Regions from separate parts of the Homo sapiens genome. Here region 1 is linked to region 2. The links are contacts of gene promoters, found by promoter capture Hi-C in human tissues and cell types (Jung and others, 2019). All regions are on one chromosome and are shown on one strand. The core of a region is centred on a gene start or on the middle of the fragment in contact, and the rest is flanking DNA. Distances in the headings are between cores, read along the strand shown. Region 1 overlaps GLS (glutaminase). Region 2 holds the start of ASNSD1 (asparagine synthetase domain containing 1).

Region 1 (7,122 bases), core at 1,906-4,405, 1.2 Mb after region 2:
TTTTAAGGATGCATTATTATACTGCACTGTAATACAGTGATGCTGTAAGACAAGTGCTGGCACACTTTCCCTGAAAGGCCAAATAGTAAATATTTTCAGCTTTTGGGGTTCTCTAGTCACTACTACAACTTCTCAGTTCAGTGGTGGTAGCAAAATAGCTGCAAACAATAGGTAAATAGATGTGGCAGTCTTCCAATAAAACTTTATTTACAAAAAGAGGAGGTCCCTGCTGTAGTTTGCGTAGCCCTACACTAAAATATATTTATTGGTAAGTTCTCTCATGCCTTGATTGGTTCTGCTTTAACCAGTACTCTTAAGGGTGGGTTTGTTCTTTTGTGGATTTTTGTATCTTGTATCAGTTGACTGTTCTTCATGTCTCTACTTTAGCTATCCTCCTTCACTCTTACCTTCTGTATCCAGTTCTGCTTAGCTTTTTCAAAAAATTGTGGTTAAATATACATAACATAAAAATTACCACTTTAACCATTTTTAAGTTCCCTAGTTCAGTGGCATTAAATACTTCTGTTAGTTTTAGAACCCAGATGAATATGCTAATGTGTAAAATAAAAGTATGTAAGTTGTGAGTGAATAAAGTTTATGATCTCACTTTAGTGTAGTGATTTGGAGGACATCTATTTTTAGCAACTCAAAAACTGAGAATTAAGCTTGGAAGTAACTTTAAAGAACATTTAATTCCAGCTCATTTTACGTATTATATAAGCTGCCCGCAGATATTAAATGACCTAAACAAGTTCAGACAGTATTAGGACTTGTTTTGATTTTTTATTTTTCATCTATTAGCAGCAAACTAATTCAATTTATAGAGTTAATTTTTTTAGATTGAGGATTATAAGAGATCTTACAAACCCTTCTCCCCAGCTGCTGCTTTCTTCTCTTCTGTTACATACTCCCTATAGGTTGTTGTTATTCATCTCTACCTGAATACTGCCTTCACAAGGGAGTTCACTCCCTTAGAAGGCAGCCCATTCCGTTTTCATAGCTGTTTCATTTTTCCTTATGTGTGGCTGAAGTTTTTCATTAACTTCTACCTATATATGTTAGTTATTCTGAACAAGTTGTCTATAGTGGTATCAGAGTGATTGCAGTGACAGAATTCATATAGTATCTGTATTATTCCATCTAGACTGATATATTAAAGGATACTTGGCTGAAGAAATGAGTTATTGGAAAAACTAACAGAGTTGGATGTTATAGACTTGATCTCCCCAGATCCTAGTCTTCCCACCCGAGACAGCCAGACTGCCTTTTGGGTCAAACTTCTGAAGTTGTGCAAACGTATGGACAAATTACCATGAGCTGACAGGGGCAGCCTGACCATTTCCTCACATAAAGTGGCTTTTGTGCTTTTTACTTTGGTGTGCTATTAAATGAATTTGTGCTATAAAGTCCAGTCAAAACAGCAGCACTAATTGAATATAATCTCATCTTTGCTTTGACAGGATGCAGTTTTATCAAGGCAGACCAGTTTAGTTCTCTTATGTGCATTTTGGTTAGAAATTTATTATTGTTTAAGAATTACAGATATTATTCCTAAAATAGAGTGCTAACCACTGAGAGCATGAGGTGGCAGAGCAGGAAGAGTCTGGAACTGGGAACAAAGGATGAGCTTTGTAGGACTAATTCTGGTCCAGCCACTTAAGATTTATGTGACATTGGACATTCTGCTTGACTTGGATACTCTTAAAACAAAATTTTTTTTAAATTTAAAATTTAAATTAACATTTTCTTTCTTTTTTTAGAAATGGAATCTTGCTGTGTCACCCAGGCTGGAGTACATTGGTGCCATTATAGCTCACTGCAGCCTTGAACTCCTGGGCTCAAGCAGTCCTCTTGCCTCAGTCTCCCAAGTAGCTGGGACTGTAGGTGCATGCCACCACACTCTTCTAGGACTCTCTTTTATCTGTACACTGGGGACAATTAACCCACCTTAATTTACCTCATAGGGTTTTAATATGATAGAAAGTGAGAGTCCTTTTTTAGCAGTAAAGCCTTAAAAGATGTAAGTTTTTATTTTTAAATTCAACCAATGATTAGCCTTGGGGCAAAATCACTTGGATGATAACTAGAATTTGTCAATTTGTTAGACTTAACATTCATTCTCATATGCTATTTTACTATATGGTCAGCCACCATCAATTCAACTTTCTATCTAACAGGTTTATTAATCTGCCAGTTTGCTGGTGTTGATAGACGGTTGTTATCAGTCAGCTCACTATAAATTCAAAATGATACACTGATTTTAAAACAACCCTGAATTATCATCTGAAGGATCATTATTCTTAAATGAAGGCATAAAGACTAGCAAATCCTTTTGTATTGTGTTATTATTAGGCCTCATTTTTTTTAATCCCACTTGAAAAGACAGTTTTTCATTGTCTCATAGGTTTACCATACTATACTATGTGTTTTAAGAGTTATGCGAAAAAAAAAATAAGAAAGACTTGACCCCAGCCTTGAAGCTTTATAGTTTGGGGAGGTTAGGTAATATGAAATGTTATTTAACAAAATAAGACCATACAGTTGGTTTCAATTATTTTCCTCTGTTCATTTTGTAGTTCTTAGTAAGGATTTTTTTTTTATTTTCTTCCTTTCATTTGATAGTTTTTTATTTATAAGATTTTTGAACTGATGAAGATGAGTTTGCCTTGTTGCTCCTAATTACAGATTAGAAACTTTCTTGATTTCCCCTACCGATTAAGGCAAAATTAAATACTTCATCTGTACTTGCTAATAAAATACTTTTTGAAAAACACTTCTACCATAGTATTTGTCTCATGGCTTTAGTCATATTTCTCCTAGACCACAACCTTACTTTAGGGATCTTTATTGCTATTGCTTGGCATATAATAAGTGGTACAAGAAAAGGACAAAACTTAGTGATACCAGAGAATGCTAAAGAGTATAGAGAATCTGGTGGGGGCAAAGTCCTGTGAAACAATTGAAATGATCATTGATAGCTTAAGATTTAGGGAGAGGAAGGTTTTACACAGAAGGCATGATAGGTTAAAAAAAAAAAAGATGAGATAGCACTTATTTACAGGTCATTGAGTCTAGTCAATTACATTGGGGAATTATAAGGATTAAGTTAGGAATAAATAGTGTAAAACTAATTTATAGAGAACTGCATACCAGACTGAGGAGTATGAATTCCCCCTTTGGTATGGGGAAACTAATTTGGTCAGTGGGGTAAGCAAAGACAGTTCCTCTTTTCATGTTGCAGAAGTTGGCCCTGCATTTAAACTTAATGTAGATTTTGGAAGGTAGTCTCCTCATTTACCTCAGATATATATATTCAGAATATATATATTCTCAACACTAAAAAATTAAGTATTCATATAATAGCCTATAGGTAGAAACAGGCACCTTAATTCACACATTCTGTGCTCTAGCTGTTTTTTGTTCTTTATAAACACTAAGTGAATGCTTACTTTCATCCCTTTGGTCTGTTTGCCAGAAATCTTTTTCTGTTGCCATGCTTCCAGCTCTTACCCATCTTTCAGGTTTAGCTCAGATTCCACCTCATCTAAAAAAAAGCTTGACCTTATTAGACCACAGTGAAGTAGTTTTCCAAAGTCTGGATGTCATAGATCTATTCTTGTAATTCCTCATTTTATGTACATGTCTCCTACTTCTTCTAGACTGTAAATGATGTCTAACATGATGTCATACATGGCATGGGATTTTTCTTCTTTTTCATTAAGAAATTATTTTTTAAGACAGTTAAAGGCTAAAGTAGGGGAAGGAATGGGTAAAAGAAGAAACAATATGATGGTAAGATGATCTTAAAGGCAGCATTTAGAAAGGAAACGAGAGAGACAGTATAAGTTGGAGAAGAAGTAAAAAGGTGAGAAATAAGGATTTTCCTTCAGATTATCTTCTGTTATATCCTATTTGAATTGCTGAATATCATAACCATTTTATGTTTTTCTCTTCAGGGGAATCTGGAGGATTCATTTGGGTTATTAATAATTGTTGATGATAAGATTTGAAAGATTGCTATAATCCTATTTGTCATTAAAACTTAAATACTTCTCTCAAGGATTTCCTAGTTACTATATAGTTACCAAAAGCTATAGTTTTTAGCTTTTGAATTTTAATGAAAAATACATTATTGTGAAGAATTACCAGAAAGAATTAATTTAGGGAGAGAAAAGGGGGGTTAAGGCATGAATGATCTTGAGTAGTTTCTGCCTTGTGGAAAGTTTGAGGAGAATATTTGAGTATGTTTGTTCGCCAGACTGTTGAAGCGAATTCATTCTCAGATCAAAATCTGAGGTTTCAAATGCTGAAATAGGTAGTAATTTCTTTTTATCAGTTTTGACAGCTTATTTTGTGAGCTTATTTTTTAGGGCTGGCTTAAATTCTTTCCCCTATAGATAAAAATTAATTTCTTGTTTAAAAGCAAGTAAACATTTGTCTTTTTTTGCTAGCTTTGGCAATAACGTGGTCATTTTAATTTTTTTTCACTATGTGCCATAAGCTAAAAAAGTGTATATTTTACGTTATTTACATAGCTTTTAGGCAAAGCAAATACCATTTACTTGTGTGATAAATACATAGAAAGCTTATTCTGCAGTTTTTTAAAGTGACAAACTACCACTATCTGAAGTTTATTTGACCAACCATTTGCTGTAAATAATTGGTATGTTATTATCCACTGATTTTTTGACAGCTGGTTCAGTTTTTTCTTTGAATATTAGGTGGTGAGTATTGTTAAGCTGTGTTTAATGGTATTAGGTCAGGATAAGACCTAGAAAACTTGTTTGTACCTTATAAAAGTAATAACAAGCTAGTAAGTTAGAGAGCCAGTATAATGTAGCAGTAGTTTGGATTCAGAAAAATCCATCTTTGCCATTGTGTAACCTTGGAAAGCTTCTTAACCTCTGAGCCTCTGTTTCCTAATCTGTGAAATGGGGACAGAGGTAGTCATTTTTTTGAACAAATAACAAATTTGTTGAGCTTCTAAGTATGTACCAGAAATCATACTATGTTTTGGATAACAGTAGTACCTCTGTCATAAAATCCTTGGAGGATTAAGTTAGAATGCATGTAAAACACTTAGCACAGTGTGTAGAATATAAGTAAGTGATCAATATATTGTAGTTATTATTACTAAAACATCCCAAATGTATTTTTTTTGGAGACAGAGTCTCGCTCTGTTACCCACTCTGGAGTGTGGTGGCACGATCTTGGCTCACTGCAACCTCCACCTCCCGGGTTCAAGCTATTCTCCTGCCTCAGCCTCCCAAGTAGCCGGGATTCAGGCGCCTGCCACAACGTCTGGCTAGTTTTTCTATTTTTAGTAGAGATGGGGTTTCACCGTGTTGGCCAGGCTGATCTCGAACTCCTGACCTCAAGTGATCCTCCTGCCTCAGCCTCCCAAAGTGCTGGGATTATAGGCGTGAGCTGCCACGCCCAGCTTCAAATGCATTTTTAGAAGTTGTCTAAGAGCAAAAACAGTTTCAGGGAATAATTATGTATCAGGATATGTCATTAAATATTTTAATGATAAAGCTATGTGTTTTTAAAAAACATTTGTGTGACATTCAGTATTTAAAAGTTTGGTTAATCATAGCATTTTAGTGTTACACTAGTTTAGTTAATTAAGATTTTTAATGCATACTTATTGGTAACGTTTTTCTTTTAATAGTCTTTATGATTTGTAGAATTTGATGTATACAGTCTTGCCTTGTCCTTCTGTATATGTTAAGAGATTGGTTCCAGGTCCCCCACAGCTCAAGTCTCTTATGTAAAATGGCATAATATTTGCCTATAACCTACATATATCCTCCCATATATTTTAAATCATCTCTAGATTACTTATAATACCTAATAAAATGTAAATGCTATGTAAATAAGTCTTATACTATCTTTTGAATGTACGTTTTTTTATTTTTTTTCTGAATATTTTTTATCCGTGTTGGTTGAATCTATGGATGCAAAGGGCTGACTAGGATATGTAAACCTAGATCACTTTAGAAATAATAACTACAACTACTGTCAGTGGAGTCTTACTCTCTGCCAGACATGTTCTAAAGATATTGAATGTATTGAGTCAACTGATCCTCACCACAACCCTATGAGGGAGGCACTGTTTTATTCCCTTTCTCAGATGAGGAAACTGGATCACAGAAAGGTTAATTAATTTACCCAAGGTTACACAACTATAGTATTACAGCCAGGATTCAAGAACTTGTGCACTTGATCTTAACTACTGTGTAGTAGTTAATTGCTATCTCTCCCAGATTTTATAATCAGGTTAACTATTTGAATAATATGTAAATATAGTCATCATATTTAGAAAATCCCCAAAACAACTGAACAGAGTGTTGAGTCTTATCGGAACGTTTGCTGAACTCTATAATTTGTATTGGGTGATTGTACTGGGGTGTATAGGAAGGCATCACCATAACGGATGGCTGGGCATTAGCACAACTAGAGTTGATGATCAGGGTTTCAAAACCTGGGATTAAAAAATGTGTTAATGATTTTTTTTCTACTTGTTTTTCAGTGTGGTTTATAGTGGTACTGATTTGATTTTGGTAAATCAACATTTATTATGACTGTAGTCTTGAGTATATGAGCTCAGCTGTAGTCTAGTTTAGTGGTTATTTAACAATGGATTTAGTTAAAAATCCAGTAGAATGTTCATACAAGGATTAATTTTGTGTTCTTTCTACCTCTTTAGTAAAATAAAACAGGGTCTGTTACCTAGCTTGGAAGATTTGCTGTTCTATACAATTGCTGAAGGACAAGAGAAAATACCTGTTCATAAATTTATTACAGTAAGTTTTTATATTTTTCTATCTTAACTTAAAAAAATCAATAATAATAAATATATACAGTATTATTGAAATATAGTCTTAAAGGTCGTCTGACATGTAGATTCTGACTGACAATATTTCTCTTATTATGTTTTCAAATTTTTGTCATGCTCATTTCAAGGTAATCAGTGAAAGAAAAAGAAAGAAACAATGAGAAACTTGTCCAGAAAGTGGGTAATAGTGACACTAAGATGCCATATTCATGTTCAAGTGTTGGGTAGAAGTTTTTATATACAGGAATAAAATCTTATAGTTGGTATAAGCATATACATTATTT
Region 2 (7,159 bases), core at 337-2,836:
TCAGGTCAAAAGTAAACACAAAACCACAAAAATTCACCAGTTCTTCTGCTTGAGCGGCCTTTATGTTAAAACAAACAAACAAAACCTTACTAGCCCACATCTCAAATAGCTGTCCTCCTTCCCTCTCAGTGGACACAAAAGTAATTAATTAATTTGAGCTCACAAACAATAAACAAAAAGACTTACAAACTCGCTTCTCTGTCACCTCTCTTATTTATTTATTTGAACCCCTGGCCTCAAGTAATCCTCCCACCTCAGCCCCGAGTGGTTGCGATTACAGGTTTGAGCCACTGCACCTATCTACCTCTCTACCAATGAGACTAGACGTCCATCATCCAACAGATACCACCAAATGGTTAGACCACAAAACCAAACTCCCAATCATTGCTGCTATCAATGTATCAGTAATGTATAAGTTATACCTGAATAACTTATCAGGAATGTACAAATCAGAAATGAAAACACAATCTTTAAAAATCAATTATAAAGGAAAAATATATAACCACTTGGGTTTTCTGTAAGAGCAAATAAAAAACATGCCTGGCCTTAAACAACCCATGATGTATACATTTCTTTCGCCAGATAGTTTGATTCATCACATAAATCCAGTTGGGCATCTCTGTGGAAACTTAAGATTTCCAATAATATAGTATAATTATCAAAAACCTAAAATCATGTCTCTAATGTGAACATAAAATATATACATGTCAAACTTTTATTCAACTCATTGGTTAGTGAGGGAACCGATGACTTTAAAACCAATACAGAATATTAGAGAAGCTAGGCATATGTTAATAAAGAAATGTTAGGACAGAATGCAGGGTTAGATACAAAACTGACTAATGTGTTGCAGAACAATAAATCATAACCTGTGTTGGTATCTGGTACAACAAAAAATTATTTGCATCTCTACCAAACCAAAATCTCTACCAAAGTTAACCTTTGCCCCTACAGAATTGTAAAACAGCCCAGTCAATATAATAAAGTCAAGTCCAGAGCAGCACTGAAAGAGCATCCAGTAAATAAATCTCTTTTGCCTATTTCCAAGTTTTAGTCATTTTTTCCACAGAAATGAGATATTGCAAATATTGCACGGGACATAGATGCACTAAAAAACTATTAATTCATCTGAAGTTCATACTGTATTTTATCCGGCAACCCTAACCACGAGTTAACCAAAACTTTACCAAGTCTGTACAGTTCTTTTGCCAACACGGTATCTCTTAAATCTGTTCCTTAGCTTCATCTTTCCCTAGATAATAAATATCATATTAAGCGCTGTTTCTATTGCACGACTATTCTTCATATTTACCACTGGAGGGCGCACAGAACTCGTAGTATACTAGATAAGAGGTCATGAAGAAACCACCTGAGCGTTTCTGCATCTCAACCACAAGAGGCCAGTACAGGAACCTCAGATTTTGCAACCAGACTGTTTACTCGCTCCCTAAGCAGCCATGCGCAGGCGCGAAACTCCTCCCCAGGCCAGACCCGGCCTGCGCATGCGTTCAAGTGAGCGCGCAGACGCTATTGGTAAGACTCGCGGGAAAAGAAAGGGTGAGCGCGGCTGGAAGCGCGCATGCGCTGTGGCTAATGCCGTAGGCTCCTTCAGGGCTGAGCCATCCCGCGTGTCTTGCGCTCGGTGGAAATGCCCAGCCGAGGGACGCGACCAGAGGACAGCTCTGTGCTGATCCCCACCGACAATTCGACCCCACACAAGGAGGATCTAAGCAGCAAGGTGAGTGTGAGACGCGACGAAAAGGCTCCTGGACTCGGGACCGGGCGCCACTGGACCCTGAAGGTGGTCCGCAGCGGGCAGCGTGGGGCCTGCCTGGGCCTCGGCTTTGCCCTGCTACTTTGCTCTTTTTATTCATAGCACTTGACAGCCACAGTTAGTCCTTTTATTTTCTGAAAACAGTTGCGAAAAGGGAGATCTTGAAATTTGTCCCGAGACTGGACCCAGGTGACAGTGGGGCGGAGTTTTGGTTGGGTGTTTTCCTCCCTAGTCTTTTTAAACTTTTGGAAATACCGCCCACCCCAAATCTGTTCCATCAAAGATATTCTCCATCCAGTTAACCATGCCAGCAACCCGGGGTCCATCCTTGACCCCCATCATGGAAGCCTATCAGTTCTACCTTTGAAGCTCATTTCAAATATGTCCCTTTATCACCGTGAACACTCTTACCACCCCAAATAAGCCACCGTCATCTGCTATCGGGACCCCTGCCCCCGGCAAGGCCTTCCTAAGCGGTCTCTCCTCATCCACCTGTTAGCTGCTGCTTCTCCGTTAACCAGAGCAATGGTCCTAAAACACGCATTGGGTTGTCACTCATACCAAACTGGGGGAGAGAGGAAGCCAATATAATATAAGCCTTAACTGCCATAAACAAACAACCTTTAAAGATAAATGGGGGTGGCGAGGGTTATAGCCCTTCAGGTATTACATGTCCTAGATTCTACTTTGGTTCTGTCCCAAACTTACAATGACATCTTGGGCAAGTCTCTTTAATCTTTCTGTATCAGTTACCTTCTTTGAAGTAAAGTGAAATGTACACCTGTCATTCCTAAAATGGGAAAGCCCTGTATAAATGTTAAGTCTCAAAGAATGTTTACAAATTTGGCCTTGGAATTCAACCTCATTACTACAGCTCTGCCAACGGGGGAGACAGAAAGGTGCACATTCATGGGGATTGGGGGTGAATTTTCAAAAGACACACAGCCCATTCTGATTACCACCATAGCAAGCCACTTACGCATACTGGTGGTTACAGATCCCTGAGGTGTGTGTGAGGTAGCACAAATATGATAAAAGCTGCTTTTAGAGGCTCTTGTGATACTATGTAATCAGTCATGTTCACAAAATAAATAGAGTTAAAAAGAAACTTAGTTTTCACTTAGTTGAGCCCTCCCCTACAAATAAATGAAGCCCAGGCCAGCATGGTGGCCCAGGCCTGTAGTCCCAGCTACTCGGAGGCTAAGGTGTGAGAATCGCCTGAGCCCGGGAAGATCAAAGCTGCAGTGAGCCGTGATCGCACCACTGCACTCCAGCCTGGGTAACAGAGCAAGACCCTGTTTCAAAAAAAAAAAAAAAAAAAAAGCCCAGTTCAACAGTGCCAGCTCTATGCTAGTCATTGAGATAAAAAGAGGGAAAAATACCAAGATGGAACATGATAGGTCTTACTGTCCCCAAATAGGGCATTGCTTGATTTGAATGTTTGACTGCAGCACTTAGTACATAAAATCATGAAAATATTGAAAAAAGTAACCCACCCCTCATTCAATTTGCTTTTTTTTAAATCTAAATCACAACTTAATTTTCAATCTAAATCACAACTTAATTCCTTTTGGTGTATATCATATATATATATTTTTTAAATTATTTATTTATTTATTTTTTTGAGACGGAGTTTCACTCTTGTTGCCCAGGCTAGAGTGCAGTGGTGCAATCTTGGCTCACTGCAGCCTCCGCCTCCCGGGTTCAAGCAGTTCTCCTGCCTCAGCCTCCCGAATAGCTGGGATTACAGGCATGTGCCACTACGCTTGGCTAATTTTGTATTTTTAGTAGAGATGGGGTGTCTGCATGTTGGTCAGGCTGGTCTCGAACTCCCGACTTCAGGTGATCCGCCCGCCTTGGCCTCCCGAAGTGCTGGGATTACAGGCATGAGCCACCGCACCCGGCCTGGTGTATATCATATATTTTTAACAAAAGGTATAAACCTTGTTTAGTAACTGTAGTCCTTGGCATGATTGCTGGTTATGAACACGAAAATCCCTGTCTGGTCTTAATGGGTTACCTAACATTTTGCAAGTCTAATCACTGTTTTTTCTCCTCCAGCTTTTCCTGAACTGTACCCCCACACAGAGACTCCTGTTGAAAATGATCTGTATATTCACAAACTGCCCGTTTGGAAAACCAGTACATCATAGCCCCTTATCCCATCTCTAATTTTAAAACAACCCCTTAAGGGATTTTCATTGAGCATACTTTGAAAACATCTGACTTAAGGAGTTTTTCTTTATTTCAATAGATTAAAGAACAAAAAATTGTGGTGGATGAACTTTCTAACCTTAAGAAGAATAGGGTGAGTTATTATAGGAATTCTGAATAATATGTGGGAGGTTTATTTATGTTAACTATATATTAAAGTTATAAGAAGTATATATAAGATTTAATCATACTTTAATAAAATGTATAGTATTTCAGCATCTTTTAAAATTGCAAGTGTCTAGATTCTTTTTTTAAATGGATAGATCTCATAGCTGAAGATGTCTTTTTTCTATCATATGCCATTCACATTGCCTTTGCAACAAATGATACTAGTTGTATTTTGGTATCTTGGAGCTATAATCACTAATGATGTTTTATACCTGAATTTGATGTTTTCTTTTGATATAAACGAACTTTATATTGAGATGAGAAGAAACTTTTCTTTTAAATGAATGTGGATAATTATTGAACAAAAAAGGATACATTGCTTCCCCTCCCTCCAAAAAATTTTTACATAGATTTTCCTAAATGTGTAACATGGTTATTTAATGCCATTTCCATTAATATGTTACAAACAAGTAAGCTACTGCTTTGTGTATGGTTATAGTGTCAAATTGCATTTTAACATTCAGGAAGAAATGAGTTTGAGCTCTTAAAAGCTTTGTAAAGATTATGTAATAACTGGCTGGTTAGATATTTCTGATATTGTCACTTATGGAATATTAGAAGTTGAGGCACATACAAAAATTAGCCAGGCGTGTGCCTGTAATCCCAGCTACTCAGGAGGCCGAGGCACAAGAATCGCTTGAACCTGGGAGGCAGAGGTTGCAGTGAGCTGAGCACACCACTGCACTCCAGCCTAGGCTACAGAGCAGGACTCCTTCTCAAAAAAAAAAAAAAGAAGTTGAGGCAGAATTAATACAGACTTTCTCTAGAGGGCAAATTGGCAAAAAGTCTCAACAATTCAAAACTATAACACTTTGACCCAGCAGTTCCATTTATAGTAGTTGATACTTAGGAGAGAATCATGGTAGTGCACAAAGATTTAGTTACAAAGATAATCATCACAACCTTGATTTACAATAGCAAAGAGATGGTAACACCTTAAATGTCTAGTATTTGAAGCTGAGCAAATAAACTGTAATATATTATATCTATATAGCAGTAGGTATAATTTGGTCACCATAGCTTGCTTTGGCATTTTGGTGTTCTTGTAAAAGAACACTTACTGATAAGAAAAAGTATTCTCAATATATTGCTCATTGATAAAAGCATAAATCTGCAGGTACAGTAAGAACCTTTTTTGTTAAAATGGAGAGAAAATAGTTTCATTTCAGTAGTAGCAATTTCTGGTAGTTGGGCAGTGGGTGACTTTTATTTGTCTTTTTGCTTGTCTGTATTTGCTAAAGTATTGTACTGAATAGATTTTCAAGAATTAGTGATAATAGGGTTTAAGGATTTTAATATCTACTTTTTAGATCAAAATTTGATATTAGCCTAAATTATGTTTTCCAGAAAGTATATAGGCAACAACAGAACAGCAATATATTCTTTCTTGCAGACCGAACAGAAATGCTGTCTGAGAGCAAGAGTAAGTTTTTTCTTTTTTGGGGTTTTTGGGGGGTGCCTAAATTATACTCATCTGAGTGTTAAAATATATATCTAAAGATTAATGCAGCAGTTTGATTTTCTTCAAATTAGGCTTCCGAAGATGAGTCAACAGTTATATATATATGTGTATATATATATATATATATATATATATATATATATATATATATATATATTATAAATGTTTTAGAAAGCAATAGTTATTAACATGTGCTTTAGAATTTTAAACAGGTCTAAGTATGACAAACCATTACCACTTTCTACCTTTGTGACTTTGGGTGAAATACTTTAAGCCTCCAAGGTATTGTGGGATCTAAATAAGATGCTATGTTAAAAGTGCTTAGCCAAGTGCTTGGGCCAAAATCAGCACTCGGCAAAACAGAAGCTATTTTTCTAAAAGATAAACATTCTTTATTAGTAGCCTGTTGTTAATTATCATTGGTACTGGCACAGTGTGTGTGTTTATATGGTTTGATTTTGGTAAACAGCTTGTGTTGCCCTCTGAATTGCTAGGTAAAAGTCCAAGAATTTTTATGTTATTTAATATTTATTCTCCTTCCCTGCAACAGATATATTGGATGAACTGAAAAAAGAATACCAAGAAATAGAAAACTTAGACAAGACCAAAATCAAGAAATAGTCAACCTGATTTCACATAACAATGTGTGGCATTTGTTGTTCTGTAAACTTTTCTGCTGAGCATTTCAGTCAAGATTTAAAAGAGGACTTACTATATAATCTTAAACAGCGGGGACCCAATAGTAGTAAACAATTGTTAAAGTCTGATGTTAACTACCAGTGTTTATTTTCTGCTCACGTCCTACACTTGAGGGGTGTTTTGACTACCCAGCCTGTGGAAGATGAAAGAGGCAATGTGTTTCTATGGAATGGAGAAATTTTTAGTGGAATAAAGGTTGAAGCTGAAGAGAATGACACTCAAATTTTGTTTAATTATCTTTCCTCCTGTAAGAATGAATCTGAGATTTTGTCACTCTTCTCAGAAGTACAAGGTCCCTGGTCATTTATATATTATCAAGCATCTAGTCATTATTTATGGTTTGGTAGGGATTTTTTTGGTCGCCGTAGCTTGCTTTGGCATTTTAGTAATTTGGGCAAGAGTTTCTGCCTCTCTTCAGTTGGCACCCAAACATCTGGATTGGCAAATCAGTGGCAAGAAGTTCCAGCATCTGGACTTTTCAGAATTGATCTTAAGTCTACTGTCATTTCCGGATGCATTATTTTACAACTGTATCCTTGGAAATATATTTCTAGGGAGAATATTATTGAAGAAAATGTTAATAGCCTGAGTCAAATTTCAGCAGACTTACCAGCATTTGTATCAGTGGTAGCAAATGAAGCCAAACTGTATCTTGAAAAACCTGTTGTTCCTTTAAATATGATGTTGCCACAAGCTGCATTGGAGACTCATTGCAGTAATATTTCCAATGTGCCACCTACAAGAGAGATACTTCAAGTCTTTCTTACTGATGTACACATGAAGGAAGTAATTCAGCAGTTCATTGATGTCCTGAGTGTAGCAGTCAAGAAACGTGTCTTGTG

The links. The method cuts DNA at HindIII sites, captures the fragments that hold promoters and counts their contacts. A contact is called where the count stands out against the background at its distance.
Region 1: a fragment that was not itself captured here is called in contact with the fragment with the promoter of ASNSD1 in region 2 in 1 of the 25 tissues and cell types used here (lymphoblastoid cells).

The regions. Positions count from the first base shown.
Region 1 is chr2:190,888,443-190,895,564 of GRCh38, forward strand. It overlaps GLS (glutaminase), which reads left to right. Exons shown (of 18, transcript NM_014905.5): 2 at 6,710-6,806. Among named protein-coding and RNA genes, the nearest start is that of GLS, 11 kb to the left of the region's middle. The HindIII fragment of the contact is 3,167 bases long and covers 1,573-4,739 here.
Region 2 is chr2:189,659,873-189,667,031 of GRCh38, forward strand. It overlaps ASNSD1 (asparagine synthetase domain containing 1), which reads left to right and starts at 1,587. Exons shown (of 6, transcript NM_019048.4): 1 at 1,587-1,738; 2 at 4,029-4,082; 3 at 5,504-5,579; 4 at 6,169-7,159. The coding sequence starts at 6,261. ASDURF (ASNSD1 upstream open reading frame) reads left to right here and starts at 1,587. Exons shown (of 4, transcript NM_001353493.2): 1 at 1,587-1,738; 2 at 4,029-4,082; 3 at 5,504-5,579; 4 at 6,169-6,529. The coding sequence starts at 1,649. The coding sequence ends at 6,239. RefSeq lists an enhancer at 1,645-1,834. The HindIII fragment of the contact is 8,906 bases long and covers 1-6,214 here.